Regions from separate parts of the Homo sapiens genome. Here all the other regions are linked to region 4. Evidence: promoter capture Hi-C in 16 types of primary human blood cells and fetal thymus (Javierre and others, 2016). All regions are on one chromosome and are shown on one strand. Each heading gives the region's core, a stretch centred on a gene start or on the middle of the fragment in contact. The rest is flanking DNA. Distances are from core to core; before and after follow the strand shown. Region 1 has its middle 400 kb from the start of LINC01605. Region 2 overlaps KCNU1 (potassium calcium-activated channel subfamily U member 1). Region 3 overlaps KCNU1 (potassium calcium-activated channel subfamily U member 1). Region 4 holds the start of ERLIN2 (ER lipid raft associated 2). Region 5 has its middle 360 kb from the start of KCNU1. Region 6 has its middle 380 kb from the start of KCNU1. Region 7 has its middle 400 kb from the start of KCNU1.

Region 1 (2,700 bases), core at 161-2,660, 540 kb after region 4:
ACTCCAGCCTGGGTGACAGAGCAAAACTCCGTCTCAAAAAAAAAAAAGAAAAAAAAGAGAGAATTCAAAAATTTATTTATTTATTTTCTTCCTGTGTTATCCCCTCATTCTTATTTACTGTTATTGACCCTTCTTTTAGACAAGTTTCTTAACTTTAAAAAATTGTTTTCCATCTCCTGCTCCTTTCAGGAAAAGCTCTTCTGTTACATTTTACAACTCCTTAATTCTTTTTCTTTTTTTTTTTTTTGCTCTATCCATCATGTAAATTGCTGAATATTTGATTCTTTATTTCCATTATCATCTATAATATTTCCACTTGGTTCTTTCTTTATGCTTATATTATCCCTTATATCTTTATTTGGTAAGCCTATTTAAATTATTGATCTGCTTAAGCTAATCATTTGGCTTTAGATGGTCGACATTTTTTATTTAGTTGCCTTTCTTTTGAGTGGTTGTACTCCTTGAGTGGTTGTACTCCTTGAGTGGTTATTCTGGCATGTAGGCTCAAGTTCCTTTGGGGATATTTCCCTTTGGGGAAGAACTGATGTCATGTAGACTGTGTTTTACTCACTGGGTTTAAAGAGATGGTAGATGATGAACCCCAGGTGGTAAAGACAGTTAAACCCTACAGAATTATTGCTGGTCACTCAAAATTGCCCCCACTCTTATTAGGTACTTTCTCTGACCAGGGTTTTGCTTTAAATTCTCAGAACAAGGAATTCCTGGGCGGAGAGTAAATACCCAAAATAGTTGCTTGGTCAACCCCTATTTTCCTCACTCTTCACCCCAACAACACTTTCGCACTTTCCTGATATTCTCCTGCTGATGGAGGGTGAGACCCAGCCAACTTAGCTTAACAAGCCTTCCAAGTAATTCCCATGCATGTGAAGTAATGAGAACCACTGGGTTTTTCATTTCTCAGGTTGATATTGAAGGGAGGAACCAACAGCCTGAACTGGTTTGCTATATGGTCAAGATCTGAGGACTGATTTCAACATCCTCATTTTTGAAGAGTTCCCTGATCCTGTTTCATGAAGGCACATCTTCTTTTATCCTTTTGAAATGATTAACCAGAGTTTAAATTTTCTTTTCAAATTTTCTCCTCTTGTCTGCATTGCCTTCATTTATAACAAGTTTCTTGTTTCTGTTTTGCTTGCTTGTTTTTGTTTTGGTCTTTTTCTTTCATGTGTTAGGAGTTCCCCACAGGTCTAGTAATCACTGCATGTCAGTTTGTAATGAAGGCGGGGTTGCTTGGAAGCTTTGTTTCCCAGAAGGAGGCCTCTTGGTTTGGGGCTTTGCTTGCAGGCTGATTGGGCTAGGACCCAGCCATTTCATGTGGGGATCCCCTCCCCTCCCTTAATGTCACTAACCACAGATATTTTCTCTTAGGCCCATCAGTTTCCCAGGGGAGAATCCTTAAGTATCCTGCATCAGGTATGTCAGCTTAGCTGCTGTCATAAATGTGTTTAATGTAGTTGCTGCCTCTGCACCCATTTCTAGGCTGACATACGTTATCTGAAACCCATTTCTACCCTGCCACCTTTGGCCTAGTTAAAGCTTCCCCTCCCTATGTGGTTGTTTGTGATATAACCCTCTTGTTCTTCATCTCATTGACCCCAAACCCAACACACCCCTCAGCTGCTGATCACAATAAAACCTAATGGTCAATACCAGATCATGTAAATAAGTTTTTCCCCTCTGGAGTGTTTTCCATAAACTAGCCAATTCACAGCCCCCTTAGGGAAGCCTGAAGGGTAATACCCATGGGCTTTGATGAAGGTGGCCCCGACAGGCTCACTGACTTGCTCAGTGGGTGATCTCCCTGCTGTCTCCAGACTTCACACTGGCCTGCCTTGGGCACCAAGTCTCTCTGACCTGTGAATAATACATTTCTTCTGTTTCATGCATTTTAGTTTCACCTCCTTATTGTGTCTTACCTGATACACACATAAACCTAACTTTCCCCTCTGTCAGCAGTCTCCTGCAGAGTGGCTATCTTGGCTTATGGCCACTCTTAAGAGAGAGACACCTCAAGACAAATTAGAACAAACCATAACCATAGAAATCACAACAGCCGTGAACATTTTGGGAGCTGAGAAGATGTGCACTGGAGGGCTTAATGTTCTGTGTGTCAATTTCCCCTCTCTTTAATAATTGGTTCATTATGTTTTCAGCAACTGCTGTTGTCCTCGGTGTCAGACCCTGTCTGGCTCAATCTCTACTTAGAGCAGTAGTTCCCAGACTTTAGCTTGCATCAGAATCATCTAGAGAGGGCTTATTGAAACACAGATTGGTGAGCCCCATTTTAGAGTGTCCGATTCAGCAGGTCTGGGGTGAGGCCTGAAAATGTACCTTTCTAGCCAGTTCCCAGGTAATACTAACCCTGCTGGTCTCAGGTCCCCACTTTGAAAACCACTGCTATGGAGTAATCCTTTAGACTCCTACTGGAGCAAAGAGGGCCACCTGGCTACATGGGTAGAAGAGGGCGTCTGTGAGCCTGACTCCTTCTTTTAAAGACTTTTAACCAGTCCTTATATGGATAGCCCTGCTCTGCACCCTTGCTGCAGAGGCATTTGGTACCTCCAATTCCTGAGCCTTCTGGGACTATGCTGTGAAGTGGCTGGTTCTTGAGGCTCTCCCGTGCTGCCAATGTAGTTTAGCTTTTTCTTGTCTGCTATTTCTATTGTCATTTACCTGTTT
Region 2 (2,700 bases), core at 175-2,674, 870 kb after region 4:
TATTAGCAGAAAGCTGCTTTGTGGTGACTCTCCAGACCTTGACTTCAATTATTTTATGGGAAACTCCTGACTCTTGTGTAGTGATAATTGCTAGCATTTATTGAAGGCTTACTACTCAATGCTGGGAACTTCTCTCAAAGTCTTATACTTAATCTTCTCATCATTTCTATGAGATTGTATTATTTATTTTACTGGATGGGGGATCTGAGCCACAGGACAGTAAGTGACTTGCTTATGGTCACAGAGCATGAACATCACAGAGCTGTGATCTGACAATCTACAGTTTACTGCTGGAGCCCCCACCATAGTTACAGGGCGGGGCGGCGTCCCCCTTTATCTCTCTTTCTGAAGCCAAAAAGCTAACATAGCATAGCATGCGATAGGCTTCGAGATGTGGTATTGGATGTACATAGAAGACTCTTATTGGATGTTGCCTAAAATTATACCTCCCCTATACGTTGACACCTGAAATTTGTTAGTTAGGGCTTTGTTCCTTAGCTGAAGTCCCTGATCCATGATGAAAGGGAAGCTGCCCCAGAAGGGTTAATATTTTATTCTTCTGTTTTTGCAAATGAAGTTTTAAATAATAGATGTTGATGAGGACATTTAAATACCTGGGGACTGTGAGCCCCTGAGAAAGATGATGATAAGGTGTTACTCAGAGGGCAAATAACACAAAGTGAAAATCAGTGCGATTTGCCTACTTCACATTTTTTTTTCTTGGAAACTATGCAAGTCATGTCTCAAGGCCTTGAAGAGAGTTTTACTTAGAAACAGTGACTAAGCTTCGCATAACCTTCACTTTGTCTTATAGAGTTGGTCTTTTATATATGACCCTAAACAGACAAGGTCTCATTCCTGCCTTTTAGGAGATTATAAATGAAATGAAGAATAAAAGCATGCAAATAGTAGTTAACTAATGCAAATAAATATATGCACTCAGTAAATGATCAGTCATCCCATAGTAATTTTTATCGCAATGATCTGAGGGCCACTTCCTCATCTTAGCACCCAGCCAAATCAATTTCCATACCCGTAATTCCAGGAGAATTTGTTTTTAGTTTTTTAAAAGACCTGTCCACAGACTCACAAAGATATTTACAAAATGCCTTGTCTCTCCTTTATTATAGTCTGTGAAGCTAGGCAGGATGAGGGAGATGACAGTAACGAAGAGAGATGCTGACTTTTCTATGGTACAATTCTGATGCTTTTAAGAAGCCTGAAGCTATTTTTCTGCTATTTTTAAGCAATAACAATAAAATTTTGTTTGTTAATCTAAAGAATCAGATTATTCAATACATACCTGATGAATTATTGCTCGCTCTCTCTCTCTCTCTATGTATATATATATATATATGGTACTTTGCTAGGATTGTGGCACATTGCTTCCCAAAAATGGGATTTTCACCTATGAATACAAAATAAGAACTAGAAAAGAGGTATTTAGAGGATCTGAAGGAAAATATCTAGTCATCTTTTCAAAATTCTTATTCTTATATTCCCTGCCACCCTAACTCTTTCATCTGTCTTTGGAACTCAGGCTCATTGTGATTAAAAGTATAGTTTTTATATGTATATGTGTATGTATATTTTCAATCCTACCTCTAGATTATCCCTATAATTATATGAGAATATATTTAGTCCTGCTGTCTTCTTTGGTCTTGCTATTGAGACCTGATGAAGATATTTATTAAACTTCATTGCAGACACATAGCCCTGCTAGGGATTCTGGTGGTCCCAAATTATACCATCAATTAAAATGAGAGAAAGCATATTTTAAAGGTTCTAAAATCTCAGGTGGAAAACCATAGAATGGGAAACATAAGTGCCAATGGGACTCTTGGGGAAAGGTAACTCTGAAAGATGAAATACTGGCCATATAGTGTTAAGTGAATGTAGATTTCCAGAACATGATTTGAAATGCTACAGTAAAGGCATCACTCAGTAGGCTTATATGAATGAAAGAACCAGAGAATGCTTTTGATTTACTAGTTATGGGCTACATTACACTCAAATAGGAAAGCCTATGCTTGTCTGGAGGGAAAGTAGTTTTAAAAGCTTAATATAAAATAAGAAGGGATAAAAGGAATTGCTCAGATAATCTCATCTGATCAGTTTCTGTAGAAAGCTCAGATATGACATGAAAAGAGCCATGTACGGTGATTTGTATCCGATCTTCTGCCCCCACTAGGTGGACTCAGAGGCTGGCTCTCAGTAGGAGTTCAGACATCATTGAGGCTAAAAGATGGGGATTCTCTTGCCTGAATAGTTTGGAACACAGAATTCGATAAAGTGTACAGAACTGAGAGTAAAAAGGGAGGAAGGGCTCAGCTTCTTTTCCTGAGACAACAGGGTATGTATGGCAGAGGGGGCATGAAAATAAGAGGTCATAGGGACAGGTGTCTCAGGAGTCATGCGTGAGCATAAATTATGTAGGGCTGGAAATAGATGTGCCAGAAAAGAAACAAACAACTTATCCCAGTTGGATTGAACCTCTTACATCTTTATGGCCAGTGCACTACTTACTAGCAAGCTTCCAGCTTGGCAAAGCCTATCCTGGCAGTCCTTCTGGATGGACTACAGTTTGGTTGGAAATGAAAGACTGCCATAGGATTACTGGAAGGCACTAGAAAATAGCCAAGGAAGGAGCTGGAATTGCCATGGAAAAGAATGTTCTGGAGGGAGAATGGCAAGCTATAG
Region 3 (2,700 bases), core at 8-2,507, 880 kb after region 4:
TAAACTGCCAACCAAGAATTTTATACCCAGGAAAACTATCTTTAAAAAATGAAGACAAGATACCAGAAAAAAAATAAAATAAAAGGTAGAGGAAGGACACGAGATAGGCCGCCCCTCCATAAAAATAGAATAAACTGGCAAAACTTGTGAGAATTATTTTTTTTTCAGAACTCTGGAAACTAACCAACAGGAGCCTTGAAAACATTTAGTCGAGAGAAATAAATAGATAGCAGTAAGAGATATAAGATTTGTGTTATTTTAATTTACACTAGTTTCATCTCCAGCTCCACAGCTCATCGATAGCTTTCAAAACATAATACTCCATATTCTTGGCACTAGAGGGAGTACAGCAGAAATACAGTTCTTCAAAAGCCTTATTTCCAAAGAAGAGTCATTATTTTGACTTGTCTGGTGGTTCCCTGCATAACCCTACTTGAATGGCTTTTCTTTTTCAGCCTCATTTGCATGTATCTAGTGCTACAAGCCTATCCCCAGGGAGTGTTATCAAATATATTAACGTCACATGTGCCTGAGGCAACAGATAGCAGGGCAAATTGAAGACCAAATGAAAGCATAAAAGGAAAACTGAAGAATAAAATGTCTTCTTACTTATAAGGGACTTTGAAAAACTCTGGAATATTACTGGAAATCTAAATGACAATGAAGATGCCCAGAACTGTGTAAAGCTGTATGCATAAGCAGAAAGGCCTGAGAAGTTCCAAAGCTCTCATCTCTAACTGACCTTGAGGTTTCATACAAGCAGAAAATGAAGGCTAAACACAGTTGTCAACTTTACAGCTGACTATTGAAGGCATGCCCCAACACAAACACAGAATCCTTTGACAAAGACTGAGAAACTTCTTGGTTCCAGGTGTTTAACAAAAATCATTGTCCAATTATAAGCTTACCACTAAGTTGAGTAGAAAATTCAATGGCCACAAATGACAGAGAGATAGACTTTGGGAAAGTCTACTGGAGAATCTGATTTCCATAAATAACACACTATAACCTGTGTAATGTCTAATTTTCAACAAAAAGTTATAAGACTTGGAAAGAAACAAGCAAGATAAAAATACATAGGAAAAAGGCTCTCAATAGACACCATCCTTGAGAGAAGCTCAGATATTGTACTTACTAGTCAAAGACTTTTAAAATCAGCTAATTTAAATATATTTGAAGAGCTTTAAAAACCTATATATAAATAACCAAAAGGAATATGAGAATGATGTCTCACAAAATAGAGAATGTCATTAAATAGTTACAAATTTTTTTAAGTAGAAATCTTGGAGTTCAAAGTACAAGAACTAAAATAAAAACTTTACAAGAGGAACTAAAGATCAGACTTGAGCATGCAAAAAAAAAAAAAAGAATCAGCATACTCAAAGATAGGTGAATGAAGATTATACAGTTTGAGGGACAGAAGAAAAAAGGAATTAAGAAAAATGAAGACAGCCTAAGGGACCGCTGGGACATTATCAAGTGTACCAAAGGATTTAATGAAAGATCCAGGAGAAGAGTAAAGAAAGGAGTAGAGTGAATATTTGAGAAATAATGGCCAATAACTTCTCAAAGTGGTTGAAAAACATTAATCTACACAACTAAAAAGCTTAATAAACTCCTAGTAGGATAAATTTAAAGAGATTGACACATGGAGACCTGTCATAATCAAAAATGTAAGACTCAAAGACAGAGGGTCTTCAAGTCAGCAAGACAGAAGTGACTCATCGTGTAGAAAGGATGACCAATCAAATTGAAAGCTATTTCTAATCTGAAACAATAGAGGCCAGAAAGAAGTAGGATGAAATATTTAAAGCGCTGAATGAGAAACAACTGCCAACAAAGAATTTAATAGTTAGCAAAACTATCCTCCAAAAATAAATGATAAATTAAGACATTTTTAAGATTAACAAGAACTTAGATCTTGTTCACATATGACAAACCCTACAATAAATACTAACGGGATTCCTTGAGTTTGAAATACAAGCACATTAGGCAGTAATTCAAATCCACAGGAAGAAATAAAAATCACACACACACACACCAACCTATACTTAACCGACCCTATAAACCAACTATACTTAACAGACATCCATATAACATTCCATCTAACAACAGAATAATACATGATCTTCCCAAGTATACATTGAATAGTCTCCAGGATAGACCATGTATTAGACAATGGAGCAAGTCTTAAAATACTATAAGAATTTGTCATACAAAGTATGCTTTCCAACTTCAATGGAATTAAATAAGAATACAATAAAAGAGAAAATTAGGAAAATTCACAAATATGTGAAAGTAAAAACAACACATTTCTTAACAATGGGTCAAAAACATACAAAAAAGAAAACAGAAAACACAGGGAAATTATAAAGTATTTTAAATTAATGAAAATAAAAACATAACACATTAAAAATACACCATGCTTCTAAAGGTGCTTAGAGGGAAATTTTTAGATATAAATGCCTACTTATTTATTTATTTATTTTTTGAGAGAAGTCTTGCTCTGTCAACCAGCTTGGAATGCAGTAGCATGATCTTGGCTCACTGCAGCCTCTGTCTCCCAGGTTCAAGTGACTCTCCTGCCTCAGCCTCCCGAGTAGCCGGGACTACAAGCATGTGCCACCACACCTGGCTGATTTTTGTATTTGTAGTAGAGATGGAGTTTTGCCATGTGGACCAGTCTGGTCTCGAACTCCT
Region 4 (2,700 bases), core at 64-2,563:
CACAACTGCTCCCAACTGAGCCATCAGTGAGCCTTTATCCTAGGGAAAAGACACGGGAAAATGTGTGTGGTCCAACGTGCAGGAGAAAAGGCCACAACAGCGAGAGGACCTCACCAAGCTGAGCTCCCTGCGAGTGACTCATATCCAGCCTGGTGTCGTGTGAACACAAGGCTAGATCTACAACTCGCTTCCTCCTCGTTCTCAGTCAACGTTCCCCTTTCTTTAACTGTAAAATTAGAGCCCCCACCGCACTGAGGAAGCACTGGCTCCGGATACAGCCGTTGCTCAAGGGAGAACCCGTGCCAGCTGGGTAGGGTTCAGAACACAGCCTTGTCTTCCTGTGAACACGAATGTGCTGTCACTGAACCTTTCCTACCAGTAGTAGGGAAGAGAGGCAGCTGCAGTACTTTGGCCCAAATTACAGAGGATGCCAAATGACAGGCAGTTGTGGCTATGTAATTCTGGTCAGAGTCTCCCACTCCTAATTGCCTGCAGTTTCAAAGGAAACCATTATTTACTCCTTTCAGATGCTGGAGTGGCAGAGCCAGCAGGCGAGCAGAGTTTCAAGGTAGGATTCGTTGGCCTCGCATCCACCTTCCCAGTTATTCCTTTGGCCCTAAACAGGACAGGGCTCTGAACAAGCCTGAAGCCACACTCCCCCCCATATACTTTGGCACTTTGCACCTGACAGATCCCCAAGCCCGTGGTCAGAGAGAAAGGCAATGTCCCAAACTGCGAGCCTCTAGGCTCCTAGGTCCAACCGCGTTCAGGCACCAGGACGCGGAGGAGTGGGATCCTGAACGCTGAATGATCTGGAACTATGGTGACTGACTGCAAAGTTCAGCTGTGCGTGCGTGGGCCCGTGAGCGCAGGGCGTGGATTCTGCCTCCCAGGTCTAACGTAACCGGGGCGCGGACATCTGCGAGGCGCTTATTTTACCGTGGCGGCCTCCGGCTACCGATCTGCAGTTGCGTCCTTTCCTGCCAGTGCCCTTCCCTCCCCGAGGTCACTCGCGCCCCTTCCCCGCCCCGTTCCGAGAGAGGGTCAAGCGCCCTGGTCTGGGGCTGCGGCTCCAATAGCCTCCGCTCGGTCCCCCTGCGGCTCGCAAGGAGAGGACGCGACAGAAAAGGGTTTCTGTCTCTCTCCAGGAGCGGGCCGGCTGAGGGAGAGAAGCTGCTGGGACTGAGGTTCCCGAAAGTGACGGGTCAGCCCCGACCCTGAGCGGCAGCTAGGCCCAGCGCGCGCACGAAGGGGCGGGGGCCGCGTACCAGGCTGTCCCTGCAGGCGCTCCGTACTCGTCCGAGCCCACGAGCAAGAAAACCGTCACACCCCTCAGCACGCGACTTCCTTCCGGGCCGTCGCTTCGATGACGCCATCAATTCACGCGAGAAGACCACACCCCCGCCCCGCGCTCGCTCTGCGCCCCGCCCCTCGCGCTCCCAGCGGTCAATGGCCGTAGCTGGCCGCCAGGGATCGCCCGCGACTTGGTCGGTGCGGTCCTGGACCTCGGTCTTGGGTATCCGTCCTGGGGCTGGGGATGAGGGCGGTGTTGGTGGGAGCTCCCCGAGAGCGAGCGGCAGGACGCGCATGCCCCGGAGTACTGAGACCCAGGGCGAACCTTTCCAAGGCGTTGACTTTGGGGATTGCTCCGGATTTCCTTCTGCATTAGGCCGAACCTGGTTCGTTTTGGTTTTTTTAGAGACAAGGTCTCGCTCTTTTGCCCAGGCTGGAGTGCAGTGGCACGATCATAGCTCACTACAGCCTCGAACTCCTGGGCTTAAGCGATCCTCCCACCTCACCCTGCTGAGTAGCTGGGACCACAGGCGCACGCCACGACACTTGACAATTTTATTTTTAGTAAAGACAGGGTCTTGGTATTTCTGGTCTCAAACTCTGGCTTCAAGCAATCCTCCTGCCTCGGCCTCCCAAACTGCTGGGATTACAGGCATGAGCCACCATGCGCGGCCTTTTTTTTTTTCTCTCCTTGATAAGGTACTGGCGAGTTGCAACTGTTTGCTTTCCTATAGCACAGCTGAAATGAAACAGTCTTTTCAATGTACAGATTAGCATCATTACCTCACCAATCAAAAATCCCTACCTTGAGTTGTTCTTTATATTTTTCTGGGAGCTTTGGCCCTTGGGATCCTGCAACGCCACAAAGTATATTAACAAGGAATTATTATTCTAATTTTAATGAACGGAATCTAAGAAGTTCAGCGAGGTTCAAGGGTAAAAGCCAAGGAAAGTTTCCTTTGTGTTTCCTTAATATCTTGAGTTCACTGCTTTTTAAACTCCTGCCACAGTGCACAGGGGCTAGTGCACTTCGTCTTTCTAGATAAACTGTACGTTCCCGGGAGAGCAGAGACTGACTTTCCTTCCGCACCCCCGGGGCTTAGGTGCCCAGTAAAAACAGACTGAAGGCAACGTGGGACCAGGCCCGGAATCCAGAGTTTGTGTCTCCTAGTCTAAGGGCCTCACGTTGTCCTCCACCTGCCCTATTCACCAGCATCACATTGGGGCATTTCTAATTCAGCCACTGAGGTTATTAATATTTTGTTTGCAGGAGAGAAAGAGTCCACTTAATTATAGCCTTCAGTAAAAGAAAAACTTTTACACCGGGAAGATGGCAAGCTGGTGGTGTTAGACAGATTTAAGACTCAGGAAAAGGGAAGTGTGGTTTTTTCCAGGCATGCCTGCTTG
Region 5 (2,700 bases), core at 55-2,554, 590 kb after region 4:
TATCAGAGCTGGAAAATAGCTCAGATAACCTCTTCAGTGGTTTTCAAAAGTGGTTTCTATTTTGCCAGGGGAAAACCGTTCCTCCAAATTCAACATGACGGCTTTCTGAGTCTAACTGATAGATGAAGAAGGGGCTGTACTATCTGGTCAGAGTGCAATGGGGAGTTCAGCCCACTACTCAGCCTCTGCAAAACCCCATGGCAGATTCTGATGTGCCACAGGGTTTTGGCAAATTAAGTAAGGGTGTAGGAGAAGGTACTCTGGAGCAGTTTCCAGGAATTTGGTGCCATGTTGGCTTAGAGAATAACGCCAAAAGGGGCCTTGTGAGAATTCTGTATTCCACATTTTTTTCTGACTCCAGTTCCAGAATCCACATATTTGTGTTTCTGGCTCCAGTTCTAACAGTCAAGGCAGAGGGCGCGTGTCAGTGTGTGATGAGTGTGCAGCAACTGTCCCTGGAAGGCACTGAGAAACACCCAGTAGGACTCTTTAAGGACAAGCAAAGTATCTTCTTCATCTTCACATTCCCTCCTGGCCAGTACATTGCTAAGACTTAAAGCTTTCATTTGTTAACTGAATAATAAAAGTTTGTTTCTCTTTAAAGCATTGCTAGCCATGAGGCTTCCAGGTATTCTTGCTGGGATGAATCCTTTTATTTTAGATATTTTCTTCCCTAAGCTTGTTCTTTTCTTTCTTTTTAGATGAGGCCATCTTTTATTCACATAGTAAGAGCGGGATTGGAATAGAGAGATGGGGAATGAGACAGAGAGGAGGCCTGCCACCTCCATTTGAGCATCATTGCTTGGGGAAAGGTGAGGCAATGGACTCCATCCCAGTCTGTTTTCTGCAGGAGCAGGTTCAAGGTAAGTATAATTTTGTTAATGAGGATCTGAATAATGAACATCTTCCACCCATCCTGTTTCTCTTAAGGAGCCATGCAGGCCGCAGGCCCTTGATAACGTCTAGCCATGGGCTCTGTTTCCCTGGCTACCTTCGCATTCCAGCCCAATATAGGCCCTGCCTGCCTGGGTGGAGGGAAGGGAAGTGAATTCTTGGCTTCCTGAGAATATTTAAGGCAGGCGTGGGGTAGATGTAGGAGGTGGAGGCTCCTGCCTGTTTCCTTGACCATTGACTGGGAAGCAGTCCTGAGTGGGTCAGAGAGGCTGATATGATGTGAGTTTGCACTCAGACAAATTTGCCTTTTCTCCCATGGAGTAGTGGAAATTCTTTTCTTCTGGAGGCAGATCATCCCTCAGTGCTGTGTGGCCTCCAGCCTATCTCTGAGCCTAGGTTTCATTCATTTCCTGTAAAGTGAGGCTAATACCACTCACCTCATAAAAATGTTTTAGGGATTATATGTCATTATGGCTGCAAGCATACCATGTCTATGTGTCATATAATGAAAAAGTTGTCTGTGATTGTAGTTGACGCAAAGAGGAGGTTTCTCTCTGATGATCTCCCTGTGTGGGAAAAATCCTGAGTCCCAGGGCAATCTCAGATCCAGTGGCATCCCTCATCCTGGGGGTCTCCTTCTTGCAGCCAGCTTGCGTTAATCATCCCAGCATTCACAGAGTCCCCCCGGTTGGACTTTGCAGCACAGAGGCCTGGGGCCTGGATGGTGGGAGTGTGTAGGTGAGGCGGGGAGGAGGAAGGAAACGACACTTGTGGGCGTGCTCAGTGTGTTTGTTTTCCATTTGCTGTTTATGAGTGCATGGTTGGGGCCTCTAATTCCATGATGCATGAGTCATTGAGTGGGAAGTGTGCACAGCCCTGTCTTCGTTTATACAAAGCCTTCTAAGGCGTTCCTCCTTCCTGAGGTGTGGGGTCATGGTGAGATGGGGTGGGTGGATGTAGTCTGGTTTAACTTAGTCCATTTCTGGTATGATCACTTTTTTGGCAGAGCATCTGTTACTTGTCATTTACAAGCTTCCCACCCAGAGCCGCTGTAATCCCTGGACCCAATCACAGCCTAGAAAGTGGTGGGACAGAGACAGACAGCTGGACAGACAGGCGGACAAACAGATCAAGGTTGCAAGCTTCTGTTAGAGAGGCTGAAGTAATAGATCTCCCTTCACTGCCACAGAGGTCACTGTGACGACTAGGTCATATTTAATATTTATCTGCGTGTTCCCAACTGCTGGGATTCCCGACAAAGGCAAGAGAATCGTGGAGTCATATAGTCCACGTCCCTTCAGCTAGGTTGAGAATACGGGTGACAGGAGTTGTTTCTGGATGCCTTGTTGGCCAGATTTTTTTCACTGCTGTTTGCCATGATCTTGACCCCCAACATCATGGGGTCTAATTTCAACACTGAAATTAGACATTTGTGAGATGAACCCATAAGCTTTGCTCATTTATCTGTATATACCATGGAAACACCAATCTCAGACATCAAGTGAAATAAAGAGAAAGAAAACAGTATATGATTTTATATTATATGAAATTAAATGTTTATTAACTGGAATATACATGACTTTTGTTGTTGTTGTTGTTGTTGGCAGTCCTGACCCATAGGAAAGTACAGGATTCTAGCATGAATTCCCTTTGATGAATACATACTCTGTCTTCTTGAAGGCTGGATAAAATATGTCAGTGACTTGACCAGGCTGGGGAATGAATTAAGAGAAAAACAAAAAAAATTAATAAAATATTTTTTTTCACGTTTAGTTCCTGGCTTCAGCTCATGGCATCTGAAATAAT
Region 6 (2,700 bases), core at 178-2,677, 580 kb after region 4:
CGGTCTTTCCTGCACTGTTCTTGTGATAATGAGTGAGTCTCATGAGATCTGATGGTCTTAAAAATGGAGTTTCTCTGCACAAGCTCTCTCTTTGCCTGCTGCCATCCACATAAGATGTGACTTGTTCCTCCTTGCCTTCCATCATGATTGTGAGGCCTCCCCAGCCATGTGGAACTGTAAGTCCAATAAACCTCTTTCTTTTGTAAATTGCCCAGTCTCAGGTATGTCTTTATCAGCAGCATGAAAACGGACTAATACAGGGACTACCTAAGGTGGACCAACTCTGCCCTGGCAGATGAGACACCACTCCATTCTCCTGGTTTGGAGGGTGAGCTCTTTCCACAGAGAGGCAACTTGTGGCCACCTCAAGGGAGGAGACAGCCCTCTCCTGCCTCACACTCTTACTGTGCTGGAACCAAAGCTCAGCTCCTTTCCTTCTTTGCAAAAAGCAATGAGGTTCAGACACTTTCTGTGCTAAGCAGCCACCCTCTCCTCTGGAGATTTGAGTGTCCAGGAGTTTCAGGGAATAAACAATCTGAACATGACTTTTACTCATCAAACTCATGATTCAAAACCTGCTGAACTGCTAGGACAATCTAGTCTATGTGCTGAAAATGAACATGTTTCTGTGAAGGTGGTGTTTTACTTCCATTTAGTTAATACAAGGTGTGTTTATGCTCTAGAATATGCGTATTTCATCCCCCTTTGACTGGGAAAAAAACTAATGAAAAATATTTTCTAACTCTCCAATGCCCACTCCCAAAATGAACCTGGCCAGATGCTGAGGCCTCGGGTTGCTTGGTGGCCTTGGACAGTTCAGGGGGACTGAGGTGTGCAGTGCTGAGGACTCCTGTGGGACACTCGGGCCTCTTGCAGAAGCTCTGGTGGCCTCCTCTGGTCTTGAGGTTTGCTCAGGCTTCGGGTAGAACTTTCTCTCTTATGCAAGATTGGGTACAATTTCCAGTCCCCTTGGGCAAGCCAAGGCCACCAAGCAATGTGAGGTCTCAGCATCTGGCCCACTTTATTTTGGAAGTGGGCGCTGAAGAGTTAGAAAACATTTTTCATTGTTTTTTTTTTTTCCCGGTCAAAAGGGGATGGAATATGCATATACTAGGGCATAAACGTACATTTTATTAACTAAACAGAAGTTATATTTCTCAAAGATGCCACCTTCACACAGCAGCATAGAGGATTTGGGGGTCAGCTTCCTGGGTGTGGCTTTGTCCTGGCTTGGACAGAGTGGGGGTAACAGCTGTGTTTACAATGAGCACTCCTCTCGTTGCTTCTGACATGGTATTTTTTTTAACATCAACTTTTCCATTTATCTTTGCTTGTCAGGGAAACGCACACACACACAGCCCCTAAATCTCCTTGTACAAAGGAAAGCTAGGTAGGTTATAATTTCCTTCTTGGAAAAAAAAGCCCTACAAACTCCTCACAGTATGATTTCATAGGCATTGCTAATTATTTTTTAGGGTGAGCATAATAAAACCCAGGTGACTTGCCTTCAGCAGTTTCTTGTTATCTTCACACAGCTCTGGATCGTTTACCGGCATGGCAAGCAATTACCATGAGCCCTGCAGTTTTTACCAGACATTCTTTGTCGGAACCCTGCTAGAGTCCACAAAGGTTAATATGCTTTTGCACTACAAAATCTGGGCATTATCTTGTGTATTGTAAGACATGCCTGTGACACGTTGAATTCAGATGATTTACAAGATCAGCAAAACAGAAGGGGTTCCCGTTGGGAGCATTTTCTGCTACTGATTTCCTCATCAGAATGTGACTCTGGGAGGCGTGGTGGTTTGCACAGGACTTCTGCAGGGGACAGGGCTGTTGGTCCTGTTTCTCCAGGGGTGCTGAAGAGTTTGGAATGTGACCTGCTCACGTGGGCATGTGCGGATGCCCAGAGATGTGCTTCTCCTGGAAATAGTATTTTGTTTTTGTTTCTCATAATTATTGTACATCATTTATTTGAGTTGAGATTCTAATGTTAAATTCATCATCCATCATCCATATACAGAAATAATTGCACTAAGCATTTATTTTTTTTAAGAGACAGGGTCTTTCTCTGTTGCCTAGGCTGGAATGCAGCGGTGCAATCATAGTTGACGGCAGCCCTGATGTCCTGGGCTCAAGTGATCCTCCCACCTCAGCCTCTGGAGTAGCTGGTACTATAGGCATGTGCCACTATGCCTGACTAATTTTTAAAACATTTTGTAGAATCAGTTTCACTTTGTTGCCCAGACTGGAAAGCAAGTGTTTGGAGTGACTTTCTGGAAAAGAAGATTTGGACCTAAATATTGATAGAATTGGGAGGTAGAGTATCTGATCCCCATTAAGACCTCAACTCAGATGTGACCTCCTTCATGGGGAGTTCCCTGGCTGCCTGTCCTACATTGTCCTGCCTTCCCGTTACCACTCCCATCCCCCAAATTAGGGATTGTCTTCCTCACTCTCTGAAATGGTTGCATTTGTGTGTTAAACTGATTCAGTTACTGTCACCCCTCTGGGATGTGACGCCATGGAGCCAGTACTTTCCCCATTTTTACTCACTGTTTTATATTCCAGCCCAGACAGTTTCTGGCTCAGAGTAGGCCCCAATAAATATTTGTTGAGTTTTCACATATTTTGTCTCCATATCTGTATAGTAAGCAGAGGTGTTGGGTATGGAATAGTGCTGGCTGTCTTATTCAGAAT
Region 7 (2,700 bases), core at 10-2,509, 560 kb after region 4:
TTCCCTTCTCCCCCCTTGCCTTCCTCCTCCTCTCTTTTTATCCTACTGTACACGTCAAAAGGAGGAAATGGATAGAAAATTGTGCTTCAGCAGAAGAGAAAATAATTTACCTTGCCCATTAGTCTTACTGGGGCTTCCAGCAGCTGAGATCCTGCTCAGGCAGAAGCCTGTATCACTTAGAACCCACCACGAACATCTCTGCACCGTGTCCACAGTCACTGCTTGCAGGACACCCAGTGGATGGCAAATATAACGGCAGGCACTCATGATGCGGGCAGGAGGACAGACGGAGGTGCGGAGAGAGTGTGGGCCAGGTTGGGGGCCGAGGGTGGCCTGCTTCAAGGGAGCCCAGAAGCACCCATGTGTATGCCTCTAACCTGGCTCTCTGCCCCTCTGGGGCTCCTGGGCTGCCATTCTGTTTGATTTTCCTCTCCTGAGTTCACTCCACCTGCCCTGCTCCCCTCCACCTTGACGGACCAGGTGGCCAACACAGGCTGTGTGATAATGGGAAGGGTGCTGAACTCCCTGAAACTTCTATCCACATGGGAAATTGTTGAGCTAGGACAGTGTTTTTCAATTTTTGCTTGTTTTGTTTTGCATGAACAGAAGGAGGCTTAAAAAATGAAATATTGGGAAACCCAAATTCACTTGAATCAATCTCTGGCAGAGACCTGGCCCACTCCCAGGGTTCTATCTCTCCCACCTCAGAAGCTTCTGAGACCCAGGGCCTGGGAGCCCTCATGAATCCAGGACTAAAACTACTGGGCGGGTGCTGGTCTCTGAGGACCCTCCCAGCCTTGTGGTGCGTGACCTTGGGGGCTGGAACCCTCATCAAAGGGAATCCTTGCCTTAGAAGGAGCTGACTGGGTCAAGAGCAAACATTCGAGAAAGGATGTTCAGGACATGGTGTGGGTTAAGATGCCACAGCAGGGGTCAGAGGGTACTTCGTGAGTGGTTGAGGATGAGTTTTATTTATCTCTGGTTCGTTTACCTCTATGATCAGATGTGTGCTTAGGTTGCAGAGCGCTCTGTCTTACCTGTCCTCGCATGATGTCTACAGGATTATTTTTGCAGTCCCTTTTCTGCAAAGGTAATTACTTCTGGAGGCATAGGGAGACAGACAGCACCAGCATGATGGCCTGGCCTTGGCCTCCTGTCTGCAGGCAGGGCCAGGGCCAGGAGTTCATCCTGATGCTGGTCCTGCATGGAGCTGTGAGCTGGGCTCCTCCCGCTGGTGCACAGTGACCCCTGCTGCTGCATGGCAGGCCTGAGAGAGAGAGAGGGAGGGAGAGAGAGAAATAGAGAGAGAGAGAGAGAGAGAGGCTGGGGGGGATAGGCAAGTGGGGGGAGGGGGAGAGAGAAGAAGAAAGAAGAGGGAGGGAGAGGAGACAGGAGGGAAGAGAAGCCAGAGGGGGAAAGGGGAGGGAGAGGGGTGAGCACTCCCCAGGGAGCTATATTACGTCCTTTCTGTGGCCACCCCACCCACTGTTGTCCCCATACCCAGTGGAGGTCAGAACCCCTTTTGACCATCCCGAGGTTTTTATAATGACTCCTTGCAAAGTGGAAATCAATCTCTGGAGACCAAAGGAGGCAAATATGCTTCGAGAAGAGCCTGGTCTGGTTTCTCAGGGCCACCCCTTCCAAAGGCTCCTTGTTTGGTGTGGCTGTGAAACCACATCTGGGGCTTCAGAATATGTGGGGTTCTTTGGTTTGGCTCCCCTAGGAAAAAGGGGTTTTGTGTGTTGGAGGCAGGAGAGGAAGTATCTTGGGGCGAAGGCTTAGCGAAATCACGTGGGACGAAGCTTCCCTCTCTAACAAAAGGACTGCCAAGTCCTACGCTCTCAGCAGAGAAAAGAACAGTTTTGTGTCTCTTTGTTTGTTCCTTGGTTTATTCACTCAGTCACAAAATTAATTCTCAAACGTGGTAAGCAGAGGCTGGTTGGCCCTTCAAGGAAGGGGGTATCTTCTGCATGTCATCAGATGGGAGGGAGGTGCCTGGGATAGGAGACAGTCTTTGCTAGCTTTCCTGTTCCTGGAACCCCCTCCCTAAGGTGCTGTGATACAGGTAAAACAACACTATAGAGATGAGTACAAGTGGAGACCACTGGGCTGCCTGACGTCTCATCCCCCTGTGTTCTACAGGGGACCCACAGGTGTCTTTTCTTAGGAGACTGGAGAATACAGTTCTTCATGTCAACCTTTGCAGATAAAGTATGAGCTGCATGAGTGAGTGTTGACATGGTGTTTTGTGTGATTTGTGCCTACAGTGGGCATTAGTGATAGAGTTCCAGAAGCAATCAATGGTAGGGGAGGGTTACATCGTGCCCTTTCTTGTCTGTGAGTCTGTGCTCACTGGGAGATGCCCTCACCTCTCCTTTCTGCCAAGCTCTGCCCACCATCAACCTCCCCAGACCCCGTGTGCGTGGACCCCCTCCTCCTTCACTGAGCACTGGTCTACTCCACACTCCTGAGCATTTGTGCTAAGCTCCAATTATTCCTCATGCTAAGTCCTGTTCCCTCCACTAGATTCTAAGTGCTGCAACTACAAAGCCAATGTCTCACCCTCGCCTTCACTTTTTGCAGCCCCTACAGCCCCTAGTACAGCTCCTGAGAAAGACTTGAGCACAAAGACACACTTGTTAGATTGAACTGAATCTCTTTAGAAACTTTTCTTCATCAGAGTGCTATTTACAAATCATT

What was found. Contacts are between HindIII fragments. The CHiCAGO score rates a contact against its expected background, and 5 or more counts as called.
Region 1: a fragment that was not itself captured here is called in contact with the fragment with the promoter of ERLIN2 in region 4 in 2 of 17 cell types (M1 macrophages and M0 macrophages); the score reaches 6.0 in M1 macrophages.
Region 2: a fragment that was not itself captured here is called in contact with the fragment with the promoter of ERLIN2 in region 4 in 2 of 17 cell types (megakaryocytes and M1 macrophages); the score reaches 5.4 in megakaryocytes.
Region 3: a fragment that was not itself captured here is called in contact with the fragment with the promoter of ERLIN2 in region 4 in 5 of 17 cell types (M0 macrophages, M2 macrophages, endothelial precursors and 2 more); the score reaches 11.2 in M0 macrophages.
Region 5: a fragment that was not itself captured here is called in contact with the fragment with the promoter of ERLIN2 in region 4 in 1 of 17 cell types (endothelial precursors); the score reaches 7.2 in endothelial precursors.
Region 6: a contact is called between a fragment that was not itself captured here and the fragment with the promoter of ERLIN2 in region 4, in 3 of 17 cell types (M0 macrophages, M1 macrophages and M2 macrophages). The highest score is 6.2, in M0 macrophages.
Region 7: a fragment that was not itself captured here is called in contact with the fragment with the promoter of ERLIN2 in region 4 in 3 of 17 cell types (M2 macrophages, M0 macrophages and M1 macrophages); the score reaches 11.1 in M2 macrophages.

What each region holds. Positions count from the first base shown.
Region 1 is chr8:37,195,117-37,197,816 of GRCh38, reverse strand. No RefSeq gene overlaps it. Among named protein-coding and RNA genes, the nearest start is that of LINC01605, 400 kb to the left of the region's middle. The HindIII fragment of the contact is 299 bases long and covers 1,261-1,559 here.
Region 2 is chr8:36,870,048-36,872,747 of GRCh38, reverse strand. The region is part of intron 19 of KCNU1 (potassium calcium-activated channel subfamily U member 1); the gene reads right to left. Among named protein-coding and RNA genes, the nearest start is that of KCNU1, 87 kb to the right of the region's middle. The HindIII fragment of the contact is 1,273 bases long and covers 788-2,060 here.
Region 3 is chr8:36,853,140-36,855,839 of GRCh38, reverse strand. All of the region lies in intron 18 of KCNU1 (potassium calcium-activated channel subfamily U member 1), which reads right to left. Among named protein-coding and RNA genes, the nearest start is that of KCNU1, 70 kb to the right of the region's middle. The HindIII fragment of the contact is 703 bases long and covers 906-1,608 here.
Region 4 is chr8:37,735,247-37,737,946 of GRCh38, reverse strand. It overlaps ERLIN2 (ER lipid raft associated 2), which reads right to left and starts at 1,313. Exons shown (of 12, transcript NM_007175.8): 1 at 1,269-1,313; 2 at 1-39. The coding sequence starts at 24. LOC102723701 (a long non-coding RNA gene) reads left to right here and starts at 521. Exons shown (of 2, transcript NR_125821.1): 1 at 521-568; 2 at 1,149-2,700. RefSeq lists enhancers at 1-751, 1,231-1,440. The HindIII fragment of the contact is 8,102 bases long and covers 1-2,700 here.
Region 5 is chr8:37,141,998-37,144,697 of GRCh38, reverse strand. No RefSeq gene overlaps it. Among named protein-coding and RNA genes, the nearest start is that of KCNU1, 360 kb to the right of the region's middle. RefSeq lists an enhancer at 751-1,950. The HindIII fragment of the contact is 1,248 bases long and covers 681-1,928 here.
Region 6 is chr8:37,159,560-37,162,259 of GRCh38, reverse strand. No RefSeq gene overlaps it. Among named protein-coding and RNA genes, the nearest start is that of KCNU1, 380 kb to the right of the region's middle. The HindIII fragment of the contact is 5,502 bases long and covers 1-2,700 here.
Region 7 is chr8:37,178,543-37,181,242 of GRCh38, reverse strand. No RefSeq gene overlaps it. Among named protein-coding and RNA genes, the nearest start is that of KCNU1, 400 kb to the right of the region's middle. The HindIII fragment of the contact is 1,091 bases long and covers 714-1,804 here.